3 separate regions of the Homo sapiens genome follow, and regions 1 and 2 are each linked to region 3. Evidence: promoter capture Hi-C in 16 types of primary human blood cells and fetal thymus (Javierre and others, 2016). All regions are on one chromosome and are shown on one strand. Each heading gives the region's core, a stretch centred on a gene start or on the middle of the fragment in contact. The rest is flanking DNA. Distances are from core to core; before and after follow the strand shown. Region 1 overlaps ST3GAL1 (ST3 beta-galactoside alpha-2,3-sialyltransferase 1). Region 2 overlaps ST3GAL1 (ST3 beta-galactoside alpha-2,3-sialyltransferase 1). Region 3 holds the start of DNAAF11 (dynein axonemal assembly factor 11).

Region 1 (2,700 bases), core at 111-2,610, 780 kb after region 3:
GCTCTTAACGTCATATATGGGTGTGAGCTCTGCCCTTCGAGGCTGTATGTTCTGAATGATGACTCAGTGATTTACCAGCCTTTCTCAGAAAAAAGAAAAGTCTTTAAAGTTTTGGAGGATTTTAAAGCTGAAACAGGTTTTCGGTTTGTTTAACACATTCCCCATTCTGAACCTTTGAGAATCTAATAAAAGCTATGGTCCTTTCTCCAGAAAAATGCTCATATGCAGAGATTCAGGGAAAAAACCAAACTTGGCACGCAACTTCCGGGGACTCTTGTGAATGGCCTGAAGCCACCTGTGACCCATGACTGATGTCCCCAAGTTCCTCCCTCCCCGTGTGCAGAGGGGGCTCCCCCGAGCCTGGGAGCACAGGCCCCATGCCTCCGTCACACTCCACCAGGAAAAAGTCACGCCTCCTCAAAGCAGCAGCGACCTTTTCAGGGATATTTTCAACAAGAAAGTGGTTTTTCTGCTTAAACATTAGTAACTGGAGCCAACAATCACCGTCCCCCACATTCCTGTCACTCTCCACTCCACACCCAGCAGCAATAAGGTTTCACGGAGTTTTGGAGACTCCTAGCCTGAGAATAAATCCAAGTCCACAATGAGGAAGAAGGAAGGTTGGGTTGGGACGGGAGGATGCTGAGGACATTCCACAAACCATCCAAGCCCTAGATACCCCCAATATCCCACGTCCGAGGACTCCTACAAACCTCCCTTAAGCACCCCCACCTAATTTCCCAGCTACTGGGTGAGGCAAGCTTCATTAAAACACCAGGACCACCAACAGAGCCAGGGTGCAAACAATGTCAGTTGAATAAAAAAAAGAAATCAATAAATAATCAGGAAGGCTAATGAGGAAAAGAGAGTAGCTGGGGAGTAAGAAGATGAGGTATGTGGCAGTTACCATTCCTGGGATGTCCTTGACCCAGACCCCCAGTGACAGCCCCAAGATGGCCAGCAGGGACTTGACCCTGAGCTCAGGCCCTTGGGGAAAATGCTGCTGGCAGCCTCCTGTGTGGCTTTGGAGGTTACGGGCACCATATTGAACAGTCTGAGAATGAGAATGTACGTTCCATTCTGACGCACTGCTGGGTGGTGTTGAGTATCCTCAGAGCTTCGTTGCAATTCAGGTGCTGGCTCAGGAAACCAGAAAAGATGTTCCCAGCTACGGAGCAAGCAGGGCCGCTGGTGGGGGTCCCTTTTCCCAAGTAAGGGCTTTTGTTTCATTTCAGCCAATGCATGCTTTTCTTTCCCAAATACAAAGGCACATGGAAGTGGTCAGATCCGCTCTCGCCACGATTAGAACCATGAGACTGACTACTCAAAGGAACAACTGCTTGGGAAGAGGCATCTGCAGGAGTCAGAAACACGGTGCCAAGTTTGGGGTTTTTTTTCTTTTCTTTTTTTTTTTTTTTCAGAGACAGGGTCTCACTCTGTTGCCCAGGCTGGAGTGCAGTGGTGTGATCACAGCCCACTGCAGCCTCGAACTCCTAGGCACAAGAGATCCTCCCTCCTCAGCCTCCCTAGTAGCTGGGGCTACAAGTGTGTGCCACCGTGCCTGGCTAATTTTTTTAAATCTTTTATTTTTGTAGAGACAGGAGTCTCACTATGTTGCCCAGGCTGGTCTTGAACTCCTGGGCTCAAGTGATCCTCCCGCCTCGGCCTCCCAAAGTGTTCAGATTACAGGTGTGAGCCACGGCACCTGGCCTCAAGTTTCTGTGAAAATCTTTGGGGTAGGAGCCTCTGGTGGCTCATAAATGAGCTTTGGGAAGATGACAGGGTTATCACGCCAAGCAAGAGGCCAGGCTTCGTGCAAAGAAGGGCAGCATCTCGCCCCGAGCGCCAACACCGCCTGGCACGTCTCTGTGCTGGAGGTAATCGCCACTCAAGTCTCTGCCCATCTTCCTGGGAAACTGTCCTGTCTCTCAGAATATAGGCATCTTCCACATTCATTCCCCAAGCTTGCCCCAGGAGCCAAAATGATTTTAGTGTGTGGAGGTTGAACCTTTCCCAGCGTCTCCCCAGCTCTAGGGCAGCAGTGGGGGGACGTTGTCCCCACTCAAGACAGGTTCCAAGACATGCTCTGCCACGCTGGCAGAGCTTAGTGACCTTGCTGAGTAGATGCTGCCAACGGCTGGGTGCAAGAGGCTGTGAGCGGTGCCCAGGCACACACCTGAGGCTGCCCCTCCAAGCTCCGGGATGGAACGGCTCCAGCAAGATGCTGGGGCTGGAAATGCAGAGGTGTGACAGTGCGTCCATCCTCAGCCCTTCACTGCGTCATCTCCCCTTGAAGATCCGGATTTTATTGATGGAGGCCAAGGTGGCCGTCACGTTAGACTCAAAGTCTGCATCGTGCACCCCCGTCTTGCGAAAAGCCCCCGCGGATGGGTTGTTCTCCCAGTAGTGGTGCCAGTTCCCTTTGCTGTCTGCCCCGAAGCCGTACAAGTCCACCTGTGGGAGCAAAGCAAAGATGAGAACCAGACAGCAGGGCTGCTGGTGGCACCTCTGAGAAAGGAAGCCTGTAGGCGTTCCTGGAATCCCACAGGACCATAAACAGCATTTCCAAGGACTCTGACTAACCCTTCATTAAAAACCCTTCTCTACGTTCCTGGAACTCTCAGAGTCTTGGTGAAGCAAATGCAAGTTAAGTAAAACTCAAGTCTAATTCCAGAAGCACCCTGAGAGATTACTGCATCT
Region 2 (2,700 bases), core at 64-2,563, 800 kb after region 3:
CATCTTCGCAGTCCTGATGGTGGCCTCCCACGATGGGTAGCAGGAACTCCCTCCTAAGAGAGGAGAAAAATGGAAGAAAAATCCCAGAGGTGGAGGCTCAATCAAAAGGGATGGCAGGAATTCCAAGGGAGGACACAAGGGCCGCTAAGCTCGACTTCACTCCTGCTGGGGGATGACCCCCAACTGTGTCCCAGACACGGCTGTGTGGTAGACCAACGCCATTCGTGGCATGTTGGCTTTGCTTGCATATATTTACCTTTTCAGAAAATAAAGTAGCCTATTCTTCTGCAATCCTTAAAGAGCTGATAATGTCTCTCGATCAAGCTTTAACCAGTGATTTCCTTTCACATCCAAAGAAGATAAGGGGTCATTAATCTCTGTGACAGTCCAGGGTCCCTCAGGAGCGAGGACCTCGAAGGAAGGGTGTTGGTATAGCGGGGAGGGAAACTGTCTCTGCCGTCCTCCTCCAACTGTGGTTTCTGACGATCCTTAATTAGGGCTTTTTCTTTCCCATCCTGTCGCCAGGGACATGGTGGGTACACAACCAGCTTGATGAAGGCACAGAAGGTTGTCTGTCATCTGCAAAGAAAAGGAGGAAGAAAACAGCGTGAGATTCTGTGATCCTGCTATAAAAAATGTTTCTCTCCACATCTCCACCAGGACGTATTCCGTGGTCTTCCTTCTGGTGTCATGCCAACCTGGCAGGTGGCTCTGGATGGTTTATCTACCTTTGTGAGCCTGAGTGCGTGCATACAATGGATGTTATCATCTCTTTGCAAGGTTATTATGGGATGCAGAAGGTGTCCCCTCCATGTTTCCAACAAGAACCTAGCACATTGACACACTCAACAAACATTTGTCAAAGAGCTCGTGATGCATGTAGGTACAATATACACAGGAATTGTTAAATGCATGTTATTTGCCTTTCTCTCTACTTCATTCTCTTCCAGATTTTGGATTTCAGCAACAAGCACAACAACAATGGTATGCTTAGAGAGTGGCCCAGGGTTCCTTTTACCTGGGCATTCAAGCTCTGCCAATTGGCCTCAGTTCCATAAAAAGGGGCTTTAGATGGTCCAGGTTCAAGTTCTGATTTCCCAGCTGTGGAGCCTTGGGAAAGTTATTTGACCTTCCTGACCCTCAGTTTCTTCTTCTGCAAAGTGGGATACTAACACCCCTACTTATAGAATGGTTATGAAGATAAGATAAAATGATGTATGCTGGGCTTCTGGTATCTATTAGGCCATTGCTGAACTTTAATTTTTCTTCTTCAACATGTGAATGAATCAATATTCTCTGATGATCCACTAAGAGCTGAGAGGATGAGATATTCATGCATACGTATCTCTTCAGATAATCCTCAGAATATACTGTCAGCTAGATATTAGTTTCCCTTTTTGTCTTGGAAGAAACTGAGACTCAAAGTGCTTAGATGACTTGCCTAAGGAAAGGAAGGAGCAGGATCCGAGTCCAAATCCACAGTCCTCTGATTCCTTACATCGGGAGGGGTTGGGGGACCAGGAACAGGGGGTTGGGGGGCTCTACCCTGGAGCAGACACCTGTCTTGTTAACTGGTCTTCAGATTACTACGGCTGGAGGGATATAGAGCAAGGGGGGAGTATTCTTTTGAAGAAGGCAAACAGGTACCTCTCAAATGCCCATCGGAGACCCCTCTGGCTCTCACCGACACCTTGGGATTTCTGTATGGTACAACTGTGGTTGCACGTCTGCCCTGGAGCGTGGTCTTTTTGGTCTTTGCTTGGAATGCTGAAGAATGGAAGAAATCTGATCGATTCCTCCCCATTCTCAAGGTGTAGATTGTCAATAAGCAGGGTATATTTTTTTCCAGGAAAATTAGAGTTGAAAGGAGATTGATCACCTTTTGGTAGAAAGGGGGACAGCTCCAAAACCATATTAAATCCACAGTGCCCTTCTGAAGACATCCAGGGCCCAAGATGCATAGGGTGCAACCCTCTACAGCTTCCAGAACTAGAAGCCCAACGTATGGAGGACAAGGTCTGAGCTCTGCAGCTCAGTTGGCAACGTCATTTTTATCCGGTCTCTGCTCCAGTTTTCACTTTTCATGACAACCTAGATTTTGTTTATAACCTAGTGGTGTCCACAGGTATCCCATCCAATTCTCTCCCCACCTGCCCCCATCAAGGAGCAGCTCTGTAATTTAAGTAAGAATAACTTCTGCATCATCACAGATAGGCTCACAATTCACTTGACTGGCAGAGGGTTCCCACCTCTTACCCCAGTAATTGATCCAGGGATGGGCATGTGCCTTAATTCATCCAGCCAAGCTTCTGTAGGGAGGGAAGAAACTTTCTTTTGCTCTGGCTGGCTTGTTGTTGACATGTGGAACATCCTGCTGGCTATTTTGCTAGCGTGTGTAGAAGAGACTAGAGCTGAACAACCCGAACAAATGGTGCTAAATCCCTGATCCTGCTCAACCTGCAGCCCCACCCTCACCTTGACTTTTCAGTTACATGAGGGAATAAATCCCCTTTATGGGGTAAAGTAGGTTATTTGTAACTTGAAGCAATGTGACTGACCCAGAGGTCACAGTTGCTCCTACCTCCGTGTCCCTGCTCAGGCTGTCCCCACTGTCCAGAAAACCACCCCACCCTGCTTTGCCGATGGCTCTTACTCATTCTCTAGGGCTCAGCTGGTGCTGACTCCTGGAGGAAGCCCTGC
Region 3 (2,700 bases), core at 186-2,685:
AGCAGGAGGAGGAGGAGGAGGAGGAGAAGGAGGAGGAAGAGGAGGAGGAGAAGGAGAAGGAGGAGGAGGAGAAGGAGGAGGAGGAGAAGGAGGAGGAGAAGGAGGAGGAGGAGAAGGAGAAGAAGAAAAAAACCAACTAGGGTGAGACCAGGGGATGGGGAGACAGCCCTGAGAAGAGAGGAAGAAATATCAGTAGCTGATTTAGGAAAGGAGTTTCAACATTTACAAATCACTCCCCCCCGACCCCCACCTCTCCCACTTGCAGGCTGTCAGGTCTTCCAGGGCAGAAAGCCCATCATCTGGAGCAGTCTCTTGATTTAAAAAAAGTTAATTATGACATTTTTACAATGATAAGTGATCAATTAGGTAGAGCTGTACAAAACTGCCATATGGGGAGCTCAAAAACGTTGTCGATATCAAAATGGTTCATACAATATAAATAACTTACCCGCATCACCTTGCAGTTTGTTAGTATATTCTTAAAGAAACACGTTTACTACCGGGCGCAGTGGCTCACGCCTGTAATCGCAGCACTTTGAGAGGCCGAGGCGGGCGGATCACCTGAGGTCAGGAGTTCGAGACCAGCCTGGCCAACATGGCAAAACCCCGTCTCTACTAAGAATACAAAAATTAGCCTGGCGTGGTGGTGCACGCTGTAATCCCAGCTACTCAGGTGGCTGAGGCAGGAGAATTGCTTGAACCCGGGAGGCGGAGGCTGCAGTGGGCCGAGATCGCGCCGCTGCACTCCAGCCTGGGCGACAGAGCAAAACTCTTGTCTCAAACAAACAAACAAAAACACGTTTATAACACTTACTGTGTCTAAAACAGTAGTATGATTGCCATTATTTTGGAGATGAAGAAGCTGAGGCCCAAGGGGTGAAGTCACTCGCTCAAAGTCACAGGAAGAGGGAGGACTTCAACCCTGGCTCCAGAGTCGGAACCCTCCACCATTAGGCTACACTGCCTTCCGGAATGAGTCCGAAGATTGCGGCTTGGAGACAGTGACTGGCCCACGTTCACAGCCAGTAAGGAGCCACTTGGCCGGAACGTGGTGTGTCTGGCGCCAAAACCCCTGCACGTTCCCCGACCCCTTTCCTGGAGTCCAGTGCCTTTCTGCCTCTTCCTCCCCTTCCCACGGCCCCGCCCATTTTACAGATTAGGAACCTGAGCTGGAAAAGGCCAGGCTGTCCGGCCAGTCTGCAGAGGACCTGGTGCAGCCGGGGCTGCGGTGCGGAGGGCCGGGTGGGGTTAGGGTCCGCCCAGGCGCGGGGGAACCGACAGCGCAGGGCGGGAGCGGGCGGCGAGGATCCCACGAGACCCGGGACTACTTCCACAAGGGGAACGATCGAGGACGGAAGGTGGAGGGGGGCTTACTCCAGCCCATGGCGCCTCTCCAGTTCGCTGACCCCGCAAGCCGGACCCGGACCTCGAATGACGCTTTTCACCCTTCACCCCTGCTCCTCAGCGCGTCCCCGTCGGAATTCAGGAGCCATGGCAACGGGGACTCTACGGCGGCCGCGCGGGACCAAAACAAGCCGCGTTTCCTGAGCTCCGCGGAGCAAGCAGAGGAGACCGCAGTGAAGGGGCTCAGCAGACAGGGGTTCCCCAACCCAAACCCAGTCTTCGTCCTCGTCGCACTTCCGACTTGCCACAGACTGCTTCCCTCTCCCTGAATCAATGGTTTAGAGTGAACAAAGTATGAGGACGCTTCTCTTTTCTGTGCCTTCCAGGCTTGCCTTCCAGACCGCCTTTGACTTTTTCCTTTTTGTGTTTGATTTACAGCTTCCAGAGCCAACAGATCTGGATTTGGCCCCCAACTCTACCAGCGGCGTGACCTTACACTTCCTTCTCCTCAGTTTGCACATCTGTAAGATGAGAAATAACCTAAGAGGATCACTGTGAAGCTTTAATTAGATAATTTGAGTGAATGAAAGACACTATGAAAACAACAGGCTCACTATAAAGATTCGTTGTCGTTGTCATATTCCAGCTTTTTAAAGTCACTCTCCAACACTCGTTTCCGGCTAACAAGCTTTCCAGAAACGCCACCCATTACCCCCTCCATCAATTTCCCTATTCTCCACTCTCTTAATTGTAAAATGTAGGAAGTATATCTCCTACAGCCCCACACTCCCCTCACGTTTCCCCAGACCCTTCTCCAAAAGTGTGCAACGCGCCTTCTCCCATTCTAAACTAGGAAGCACATCAGCAAGCTCATTCACCCTCAGATCTTAGTGTTAGCACTTTAATGCGTTAGCTTCCCAAGAATCTTTAAAAGGTACCATTATTATGAAAGTAATTATTATTCTTTACTCCATTTGCAGAAAAAGGAGGGGGGCAATATGTAAAAGGTAAAACCTTCTCCCATCCCAGTCGTTTTAAACAGTATGGAGTGCGTGCTTCTTATCTTGATGTGTGTATTATGTTTGCATTTTAAAAGAAGATTCCTAGAGCAATGCTGAGTGCAAAGAAATTAATTTTTCTAGCGAATAGCTGTTAAGCATTTACAGCTGGCAATTATTAGAGTTTGCCAGGTAGAGACAAGGTCATGAACTTGGACAGAGAGGCAGGAAAGTCTAACAGAGTGAGGTGATGGGGGGAAGCAGAAACATCAGTTTGGCAATAAAGAGAGCTAGATAGAAGGGATCTTCGAACAGTAAGAATGAGAGATTAGATCGGGGGTAATGGGGGCCTTAAATG

Evidence for each region. Contacts are between HindIII fragments. The CHiCAGO score rates a contact against its expected background, and 5 or more counts as called.
Region 1: a fragment that was not itself captured here is called in contact with the fragment with the promoter of DNAAF11 in region 3 in 2 of 17 cell types (fetal thymus and activated CD4 T cells); the score reaches 5.3 in fetal thymus.
Region 2: a fragment that was not itself captured here is called in contact with the fragment with the promoter of DNAAF11 in region 3 in 1 of 17 cell types (fetal thymus); the score reaches 5.4 in fetal thymus.

Annotation. Positions count from the first base shown.
Region 1 is chr8:133,457,484-133,460,183 of GRCh38, forward strand. ST3GAL1 (ST3 beta-galactoside alpha-2,3-sialyltransferase 1) reads right to left here. Exons shown (of 10, transcript NM_173344.3): 10 at 1-2,454. The coding sequence ends at 2,281. Among named protein-coding and RNA genes, the nearest start is that of ST3GAL1-DT, 110 kb to the right of the region's middle. The HindIII fragment of the contact is 1,203 bases long and covers 760-1,962 here.
Region 2 is chr8:133,476,022-133,478,721 of GRCh38, forward strand. It overlaps ST3GAL1 (ST3 beta-galactoside alpha-2,3-sialyltransferase 1), which reads right to left. Exons shown (of 10, transcript NM_173344.3): 4 at 257-579; 5 at 1-53. The coding sequence starts at 3. Among named protein-coding and RNA genes, the nearest start is that of ST3GAL1-DT, 93 kb to the right of the region's middle. The HindIII fragment of the contact is 1,982 bases long and covers 323-2,304 here.
Region 3 is chr8:132,674,110-132,676,809 of GRCh38, forward strand. It overlaps DNAAF11 (dynein axonemal assembly factor 11), which reads right to left and starts at 1,436. Exons shown (of 12, transcript NM_012472.6): 1 at 1,375-1,436. The coding sequence starts at 1,384. LOC105375767 (a long non-coding RNA gene) reads left to right here and starts at 1,521. Exons shown (of 2, transcript XR_928665.4): 1 at 1,521-1,696; 2 at 1,783-1,949. The HindIII fragment of the contact is 7,589 bases long and covers 1-1,902 here.